Linked DNA regions of Homo sapiens: region 1 is linked to region 2. The links are contacts of gene promoters, found by promoter capture Hi-C in blood cells and fetal thymus (Javierre and others, 2016). All regions are on one chromosome and are shown on one strand. Each heading gives the region's core, a stretch centred on a gene start or on the middle of the fragment in contact. The rest is flanking DNA. Distances are from core to core; before and after follow the strand shown. Region 1 overlaps RASA3 (RAS p21 protein activator 3). Region 2 holds the start of CDC16 (cell division cycle 16).

What was found. The method cuts DNA at HindIII sites, captures the fragments that hold promoters and counts their contacts. A CHiCAGO score of 5 or more calls a contact.
Region 1: a fragment that was not itself captured here is called in contact with the fragment with the promoter of CDC16 in region 2 in 7 of 17 cell types (naive CD4 T cells, naive CD8 T cells, non-activated CD4 T cells and 4 more); the score reaches 9.3 in naive CD4 T cells.

Annotation. Positions count from the first base shown.
Region 1 is chr13:114,030,723-114,035,610 of GRCh38, reverse strand. The region is part of intron 4 of RASA3 (RAS p21 protein activator 3); the gene reads left to right. Among named protein-coding and RNA genes, the nearest start is that of C13orf46, 59 kb to the right of the region's middle. RefSeq lists an enhancer at 3,479-4,420. The HindIII fragment of the contact is 3,496 bases long and covers 1-3,286 here.
Region 2 is chr13:114,233,202-114,238,430 of GRCh38, reverse strand. It overlaps CDC16 (cell division cycle 16), which reads right to left and starts at 3,534. Exons shown (of 18, transcript NM_001078645.3): 1 at 3,299-3,534; 2 at 1,732-1,786; 3 at 1,535-1,632. The coding sequence starts at 3,346. RefSeq lists a silencer at 3,216-3,575 and an enhancer at 3,686-3,735. The HindIII fragment of the contact is 7,021 bases long and covers 2,270-5,229 here.

The sequences.
Region 1 (4,888 bases), core at 289-2,788, 200 kb after region 2:
ACCCTGACCCGGCTCTGCGCGCTGCTCTCTCCCTGGGGAAGGCCTTCCTGAGAAAGATGGATAGGGACCATTGGCTGCTTTTTAAAAATTAATTAACTCTGTTTTGGGGGCAGTTCTGTGTTCACAGGGAAATTGAGCAGAGTACAGAGTTTCCATACACCCCTCAGCAGCCCCCGCCCAGGGCCCCATGGGTGACACTGCAGCCACACGTTGTCAGGAGCTGGACGCTGGGGCCCCTTTGCTGCGTCTGTGAGTTCGCAGGAGTGCAGCGCCAGGGACCTCAGTGCAGCGTCCAGGCAGGTGCCAGGGTCGGCAGCCAGGTCCTCTCGTTCCTTTCCTGTGGGAATTTGTGCCTTTTCCCTTTTGCTCTTAGTAGCCTGGTTTGAGGTTTATTAATTTTATTGATCTCTCAAGGAATTTGCCGTTGGCTTTGATTTTTACCTATTGGTTTCCGATCTGACTTCTGTTTTCTGTTCTTGGGCTCTGGGTTTAGTTTACTCATTTTTCTCAGTCTCCCAGCTCTAAGCTCAGGTCAGCGTTCAGATCTCCCTTCTGCTCTAAGCTCAGGTCAGCGTTCAGATCTCCCTTCTGCTCTAAGCTCAGGTCAGCGTTCAGCTCTCCCTTCTGCTCTAAGCTCAGGTCAGCGTTCAGATCTCCCTTCTGCTCTAAGCTCAGGTCAGCGTTCAGATCTCCCTTCTGCTCTAAGCTCAGGTCAGCGTTCAGATCTCCCTTCTGCTCTAGTCTGTGTGGCCGGCACTCCAGATTCCCCTCCACCCCGAGCACGGCTCCCGCTTCATCCCACTGATTTTGATGAGTAACACTTTCATTTCTGTTTATTCCGGAACATTTTAAAATTTGTCTTGCGTTCTCTGATCTGTGTGTTATTTAGAACTGTGTTGTTTAACCTCTAAATGTCTGGGATTCTCCAGCCTGCGCCAGCACCTGCAGATTTACTCATTGGCTTTTCTGGCAGGAGAAAGGGCCTTCCAGGGGTGGGTTTTGTTTGTTCCCACTCCTGAATCAGCAGAAGACGAAAGCACACAAGTCAGCTGGTCAGGAGGGATTCATGCTGCAGGAACAGGAGCAGCCTCAGGACCTGATGGTGACCAGCCAGGTGCCCCTGGACCCGGCCAGGAGCCGGGAGAGCACACGGGGGCCGCACAGCCTGCTGCCAGGGGCCGGGAGAGCACACGGGGGCCACACAGCCTGCTGCTGGGGACCAGGACCCCCCACATGCAGTCGTGACTCTTCCTGAAGCTCCCGAATGTGAATAGAGCTACCTCCGTCTGCACAGCCTTGCAAATCTGAACGCTTCTGTCCTGAGAGAGTTTGCGCCCGGCATTTGAGAACGGGGATGAAGCAGTGGGGATTCTTGGTTATTCTTGGGTCAGGCACTTTCTCCTGTCTTTGGTGGTCAGGCCACTCCTTTAGCCCGTGGATAGCCACGGATAGCAGGCCCAGTGCCCGGCTGGTGTTCAGGGCACTCCTTTAGCCCGTGGATAGCCACGGATAGCAGGCCCACTGCCCGGCTGGTGTTCAGGGCACTCCTTTAGCCCATGGATAGCCACGGATAGCAGGCCCGCTGCCAGGCGGTGAGGACCACAGGCGATACTCCGCTCAGCCCTGAGCTCTGATGGGTGTGGGAAGAGGAGCTGTGGTCTTGGTGGGGTCTTTGTTGTCATTTTAGGCACCTGTTTTCCCCGCCCACAGTGCTGGCGTGGGGTTCATGCCCACCTTCCCGGCCCAACATCCTTGTGGCCCCTCAGGACCTGCTCTGGGGCTGCAGCCACAGGGCGGGAAGGCCACACCCAACCTCCAGACCCCAGAGTCTCAGGACAGCAGCGGAGGCCCCACCTCCCACACCTGCCTGGGCAGCACAGACCCAGTTCCATTCCCCCTGTGAGCGCTGGGTCAAGTGTGGGGGTGCCGTGGGGCGTGGTGTCAGTGTGGGGGTGCCGTGGAACGTGGTGTCAAGTGTGGGGGTTCCGTGGGGCGTGGTGTCAAGTGTGGGGGTGCCGTGGAACGTGGTATGAAGTGTGGGGTGCCGTGGAACGTGGTGTCAGTGCGGGGGTGCCGTGGGGCGTGGTGTCAGTGTGGGGGTGCCGTGGGGCGTGGTGTCAGTGTGGGGGTGCCGTGGGGCGTGGTGTCAGTGTGGGGGTGCCGTGGGGCGTGGTGTCAGTGTGGGGGTGCCGTGGAACATGGTATGAAGTGTGGGGGTGCCATGGAACGTGGTGTCAAGTGTAGGGGTGCTGTGGGGTGTGGTGTCAGTGTGGGGGTGCCGTGGAACGTGGTATCAAGTGTGGGGGTGCCGTGGGGCGTGTTGTCAGTGTGGGGGTGCCATGGAACGTGGTGTCAAGTGTGGGGGTGCCGTGGAACGTGGTGTCAAGTGTGGGGGTGCTGTGGGGCGTGGTGTCAGTGTGGGGGTGCCGTGGGGCGTGGTGTCAGTGTGGGGGTGCCGTGGGGTGTGGTGTCAGTGCGGGGGTTCCGTGGAACGTGGTGTCAAGTGTGGGGGTGCTGTGGGGCATGGTATCAAGTGTGGGGGTGCTGTGGGGTGTGGTGTCAGTGTGGGGGTGCCGTGGAACGTGGTATCAAGTGTGGGGGTGCCGTGGAACATGGTATCAAGTGTGGGGGTGCTTTGGGGTGTGGTGTCAGTGTGGGGGTGCCGTGGAACGTGGTGTCAAGTGTGGGGGTGCTGTGGGGCATGGTATCAAGTGTGGGGGTGCTGTGGGGTGTGGTGTCAGTGTGGGGGTGCCGTGGAACGTGGTATCAAGTGTGGGGGTGCCGTGGGGCGTGGTGTCAGTGTGGGGGTGCCGTGGGGCGTGGTGTCAGTGTGGGGGTGCCGTGGGGCGTGGTGTCAGTGTGGGGGTGCCATGGAACGTGGTGTCAAGTGTAGGGGTGCCGTGGGACGTGTTGTCAGTGTGGGGGTGCCGTGGAACGTGGTGCCAAGTGTGGGGGTGCCGTGGGGCATAGTATCAAGTGTGGGGGTGCCGTGGGGCTGCACCGACGCGGTGTCAAGTGAGGGCTGAAGGGCTTTATGTTCCACTCCCTGACCAGGGGCTTCGGGGTGTGCACCCTGGCAGGGCAGGCTGCGCCCACGACCCAGGCACCCCGAGGGTTCACAGGCAAGGGTTTCAGAAGGTGGGGAGGCTGAGGTTGTGGCAAAGTCATAAATCAGTACATGGAGGCCGTATGTCAGTTTGACCTGAGAAGGCAGACATCACGACGTGTGGCCCATGGGTCGGATATAGAGCGTTTTTGATTTGTGATTGGTTAAGGAGGAGAAGCTTTGTCCAAACAATTGAGATCAGCAGAAAAGAATGTTGGCTCTGGCCCACAGGCATGACCCCTCCTGGCCCCTGAGGAAGAAATTCAGAATAGAGCCGGGTTCAGGGTTCGGGCCTGTGATCCCCCCTGCATTTGTGGTCTGTGTTGGTAGATCTGTTTGGTGAGGGTCTCGGTTTTTGAAAAACAATTTAGGGACATATGTTAAGATGCTATTTTTAACTTGTATAGGGAATAAATATCTCCTGACTAATTTTTTGGCTATTATTTTATTATTTATTTTGCTTGTTAGGTGATTTACCACTCAAGGCTGGCTAGGTGTCTGATATATTTTTGAAGGAACTCGAAGGTTTTTTAATCATTTAGGTGGGTGGGGCCTAAGCGAGGTCCCTGCTCCATCCGAGGTTCTGCACCAGGCCACGTGCTGCAGGGCTGCTGTCGGTTCTGCCGTCCACGTCTTAGCGCCAGGCATTCTGCCCGTCTGTCCCACCCTCCCACAGGCAGGGACAAGCCCTGGGGAACACGCCTTGGCCTTCCCGGAGCCTCAGGAGCTAGAGCTAAGGGCCGGGCCAGGCAGAGCCCCTGAAGCATGGATGAGTCTGTGTTTATCCCATCCATTCATTGCCATTCAGGCTGGAGCAAATACAGGGACAGCGGCACACACAGGTAGGCACACATAGCCGCACACACACACAGGTGGACACAGTCACACATACACACAGGCGGTGCACACACAGGCAGACATGCACACACAGTCGCATGTACAGACAGGCGGACAAACACACATACACAGGTGGACACACAGCCACGCGCACAGACAGGCAGACACAGTCGCGCACACACACAGAAGGACATGCACACAGCCACACACTACAGACAGGTAGACACACACAGAGTTGCATGCACATACAGGCAGATGCACACACAGCTGCTTGCACACAGACAGACATGCACACATAGTCGCACACACACACAGAAGGACACACACAGCCAAACACACAGACAGGCAGATGCACATACAGACAGGCAGACACCGACAGGCAGACACACACAGTTTCATGCAAACACAGGCAGACACACAGCCGTGTGCACACAGACGGACACGCACACACAATCGCACGCCCACACAGACACATAGCCACATGCACAGACAGGCAGACACACACAGCTGCATGCACACACAGGCGAACATGCACACAGGTGGACACATACAAGCAGATACACACAATCACATGCACACACAGGTAGACACACAGTCGCATGCACACAGGTGGACACAGCCACACACAGATGGACACACAGTTGCACGCACACAGGCAGACACACAGCCGCACACACAGGCGGACACACAGCTACACAGGCAGACACGCACACAGCAGCACAGATGGACACACATAGTCGCATGCATGCATAGGCAGACACACATAGACACACACAGTTGCACGCACACAGGTAGACACACAGCCGCACACACAGGAGGACACACAGCTGCACACACACAGCCAGATGCACAGACACAGGCGGACACACATACAGGTGGACATGCACACACAGCAGCATGCTCACATACACAGCTGCACACACAAACCGCACGCACACAGGCAGA
Region 2 (5,229 bases), core at 2,285-4,784:
GTGTGAATAACTGCTGGGCGTCCGAGGAGCTCGCAGCAGCTCCACTTCAGGCACTGAGTGTGAATAACTGCTGGGCATCCGAGGAGATCGCAGCAGCTCCACTTCAGGCCCTGAGTGTGAATAACTGCTGGGCGTCCGAGGAGCTCACAGCAGCTCCACTTCAGGCACTGAGTGTGAATAACTGCTGGGCGTCCGAGGAGATCGCAGCAGCTCCACTTCAGGCCCTCAGTGTGAATAACTGCTGGGCGTCCGAGGAGCTCACAGCAGCTCCACTTCAGGCACTGAGTGTGAATAACTGCTGGGCGTCCAAGGAGATCGCAGCAGCTCCACTTCAGGCCCTGAGTGTGAATAACTGCTGGGTGTCCAAGGAGCTCACAGCAGCACCACGTGACTGGAGCACGTGCTCCAGGTATTGATGGTGGTGGATTAGACGCAGAGTGGAGAGAAAACAAGGAGGGCCTCACAGACCTACTGATGCATCTGACTTTATCCTGCAGCTAATGGGAAGTCACTGAATGACTTTGTGGGAATATAACCACATCCGTGTTTTAAAGACTACTCACTCCTGTAATAGTTCACAAGATGAACTTGTGACAGGGAAGATAAGAAGAGAGAAACTGTTACTGGGGAAAAGAGACAAGAAGAGAGGCTGTAACAGAACAGACAAAAAAATCAAAGGCCTGACACGTACGAGTGGGGAGGAAGAGGAATATCCATGATTCCAGAGCTGTTTAGAAAACAGTCTTCAGAATTTAGAGACTAGATGGGAGATGGGGGAAAAAGAAGGTGACAGATTAGGTATAAGACATTTTCCCTTCACTTTCACTAAAAAAAAACTGGGCCTACTGTGATGACTCACATCTATAATCCCAGCACTTTGGGAGACCAAGGCGGGAGGACTGCTTGAGACCAGGAGTTCAAGACTAGCCTGGGCAACATAGTGAGGCTCTGTCTCTACCAAAAAAATTTAAAAATTAGCTGGGTGTGGTGGCATGCACCTGTAGTCCCAGCTATTAGGGAGGCTGAGGCAGAAGGATCACTTGAACTCAGGAGTCTGAGGTTATAGTGAGCCACGATCATCCCACTGCACTCCTGGGTGACACAGAGAGACCTCAAAAAAACAAAAACAAAGAAAAATTGCATCAAGTTAAATAATTTCAACAGAAATGGAATATACACCTAAAACCCTAATGACTTTTTTTTTTTTTGAGACAGAGTCTTGCTCTGTTGTCCAGGCTGGAGTGCAATGCACGAACTCAGCTCACTGCAACCTCCACCTCCCAGGTTCAAGTAATTCTCTGCCTCAGCCTCCCGAGTAGCTGGGATTACAGGCGCCTGCCACCACGTCCGGCTAATTTTTGTATTTTTAGCGGAGATGGGGTTTCACCATCTTGGTCTTGAGCTCCTGACCTCATGATCCACCTGCCTTGGCTTTCCAAAGCGCTGGGATTACAGGTGTAAGCCACCGCGCCCGGCCACTAATGACATTTTTTTTAAAGCTCTGAAGAGCTTTAAAGTTCATACCATCACTTACTTTGTCCAGTTTTCGTGACCGAAGTGCATGGGCGGCTCTGTGATATTGTGCTGTCAGGTAAAGACACTGAGCCAACCAATAGATGTCCTGGGGTTCTTCTGGAGGGAAAAATTCACATAAGTGGTCAGAGGTACAAGGTGAAATAGAAAACGAATTTTAAGATTAATCAGAAAACCAGTTAGCATTTTGTCACTTACCACGAGAGAGTGAAGCTACTTTATCTGCCCAAAATAGAGCACTTTGATACTGTTGCTGCATACCAAAAAAAAAAAAAGGTGGTAACTGCCCTGTTATTTTAATAGTCTTAAACAGTTATCTAATATTATTATAATTCTATGTAATATATTAATATAATTCTATGTAATAAATCTTCATCTCAAGACAACAATTTGTTACATCTCTATCTTACATCTCACGTAGGGTAAATTTTAGTTCAGTGTCGCAATACAAACATTCCTGTAATATCTTTGTATATGCAACTTATGAAGGTAATTTTTTAAAACTCATACACTGTAAAAATGTATCGTGAAACATACAAGTGAAATGCAAGTGAAACAGCAAAAGCTAGTCATTAACAATTCATGTGTGATTTATATAACACTTTCAACGAGCTGTTAATGAATCCCAAAGTGAAATTTAGAAGACAGAACACTATACTCAAATACCTTATATAACACAGTGGCAGTTTTAATAACACTCAAGTTTAAAAACACACACACATAAATTAACTAAGCTTCACTGAACATGGGGAAGAACTCACCTCCTCCAAGTCTAACAAAAATGAAGGAGCCGACAATGAGGGCCACCCACAGTGACCTACGGCTAGCTTTAGACCCTGTTCTGCTCCTCAGTCCTCAGTCTTCTACAGTCTCTGCCTCAGTTCCCCTGGAGACAAGCCAGGACCACTGCTGCTAGCCCGAGGCAGGAGGAATGCCAACGGGATAGTTATAAATATGCTCAATACCGGTGTCTCTGGCTGGAAACCGGGCCTGTCATATTCCTCACTACGTCTCCGTACCGAAGAAAAAGTGATCAGAAAACACTGAATTCAACTGACTCATGGTAAATAAAAACACAGCCCTCCAAATGGACTGCAAACATTTGGCCACGTCAGTTAGCACCCAATTCCGAAAACTCTGCATTACCATGGCTTTTCTTTCCCTTTCTTTCCAATTTCCTGAAAGAGCAAGCATTTCAACAAAAAATAAACAACAATATAGATAAAACTGATGCTGCTGATTCTCGAAGACACTTCTTGCCTTAAACGCTCTCTGCTATTCAAAGGTAGTGCAGAGAACACAGACATAGTTAACGAGAATTTTTAAAGTATTGATTTGAGACAACAGGCTTCTTCACATCTTTATTCACTTAAATTCAGCCCAGTAAAAATTACAACTAAACCTCTCAAAAATGTTTTATTAGCTAGCCCTGCAACTTTCCTCCAAAAATTGTCCTTCAACTTGCACTGAGTAGTCAGTGTTTCCTGGGCACCTCCTCCGCGCCAGGTGCAGAACGAGGCTCAGACCCGACTGAGGCGCCCCGTGCGCTCGGGGGCCTCCACTCCCCGGGCTGTGCCCCTCCCAGCTGCAGGGACCGCTCCCTTCTGGGCGAGGCGGAGACAGCGCTGCTGGCCCCAGATGAAGGCCCAGGGCCGGCCCAGTCCTTCCCCACCAAGAGCCCCGACAACAGTCACCCCAGCCCCACGCCGCGCGGAAAAAGACCCGGCGAGGCCTGGGCCCCGCACCCCGAGTCGGGGCCGCCCACCTGGTCGAGGTACTGCCGGACGCGCTTCCGCAGCCGCTCTAGGTTCATGGCGGCGCGGGCCCGGCCTCACGCCACACTCCGCCGCTAGGCGCGCGCCTCCTGCACCCTAAGCACCCCGCCCCGTGCCCGTGCCCGTGCCTGCAGCCGCCGCCGCCGCCCCAGGACTCGAAGGCCGCGGACTCGAAGGCCGCAGGTCCCCACCCACACCCGCACCCCCCACCCAGGCCCCGTGCACTGCCCAGGCTCTTCCGCTCCAGGCAGGCCCCGCCCCGGAAGTCCACAGCAAACGAATCCCATCTGGCGCGGGAAAACGGACCCGAGTTGTTGGTTCCGATGCCTCTCCTGGCACGTGGGCTTCTGGTTGCCTTGGGGCGAGAGCGCGGCCTCCCTGGAATCGCTGCGGCGCCTCTGGGCATTGGCGAGAGAGTCAGGAGGGCTCGGGGCCGGACCACCCACCCGGGCAAAAAAGCAGGTGGCTGCTGAGCCTTCTTTCCCCAGAATGTAGTCAACATTTTAAAAATAAGAGCAACGCACTCTCATTACAAAAAAAAAAAATTGTGTGCACAAACAGCAAATGAAGTCAAAGACAACCTAGGGAAAAATTTGAAACCTATCACAAAATTCGAATTTCCTTATAATGTAGAGCCAATATTCCCTTTACATATATGTAATAAGTCAGTGGGAAGAGACCAATGGCTCAGGAGAAAGACAGGCAAAAAACAGTTCACAGGGAAAGAAATGCAAATAGACTTTAACATACGAAAGAAAGTCCAACTTAATTCATAATAAAAATTAAAATTAGAGTACCACTTTTCATATGTTAACAAAGATCACAAAGGTTGATGACACTGCTAGCAGGAATGTCGGGAAGCAGGCACCCTCAAGTTTTGTGAGTGGTATTGGTATACTCTCTAGGATGAACGAATTGGAATATCTTCCAAATTTAAAGGTGTTCGTGCTGTTAAACCTAATGATTTTTATTTTGGGAAATATACCATGGATTTGCATTTTTGCATGTGTGCAAAATGACCTGTGGTTTCGTTTGTAATAGCAAAAGATTGCAGACAATTTAAACACCCATGAAGTATGGAACTGAGTAAATAGGTCATGATACGCTCACGTAATGGAATACTCGCTGGCTGTTCAAAAGAACAGTCAGCTTTGCATGGACATTGAACGATCTTCAAGATATAGTATGTGGGAAAAAGCAAGTATAGGATCGTGTTTATCGTATGCCTGCATTTGAGTAAAATACGAATTTAATGATAGGTAGAAAAATCCCTAAACTGTCCCAGGAAGGAAAAATGAGAAAACCGGCATAGCGCAAGGCCTCTGGAAGGAGTGCTGGAAGATGAGAGATGGTAGAAGTGGGAGAGGTACTTCCTTGGATATCTTTTTGTGCTTTTGAATTTCAGTCAATGTGCATATATTACCTTTTGTGAAATTAAATCATTCAAACTTAAAATAATTTAAACTTGAAGCTGTTGGAACTTTGAATTACCTGAGCCTTGAGGGGAATGTGGCTACGCGGCCTAGGTCATGCCACACCCAGCTGTAACTTCTGCCTTTTTCCCTGTAAACAATAAAGACCAAATGGCACCGGAGATAAGACCCCCTCAGATCACTACCCCTCCTCATGGAGTTATAACGCAATCTTCCTTCAAATACAGAGATCCCTAACCAATGGAACCGCTGCGGCGTGTGCCCCTGGTCTCATATGAGAACTGTGGTGATCCTGCTGGAGCTTCTGTCTCCGCCTGGTAAGAGAGACCTGAGCTCCACTTGGAAAGGCTGACCCCATTTGTCCAGGTGGCCATTCTCAGGCTCTGTGCTCAAATACACACTATATGTAATCATATTTCTGAATCTCAATATTAAGGTTGACACTTTTAAAAAGTAAATATAACTTTTATAAATATAAAAACCTAAAA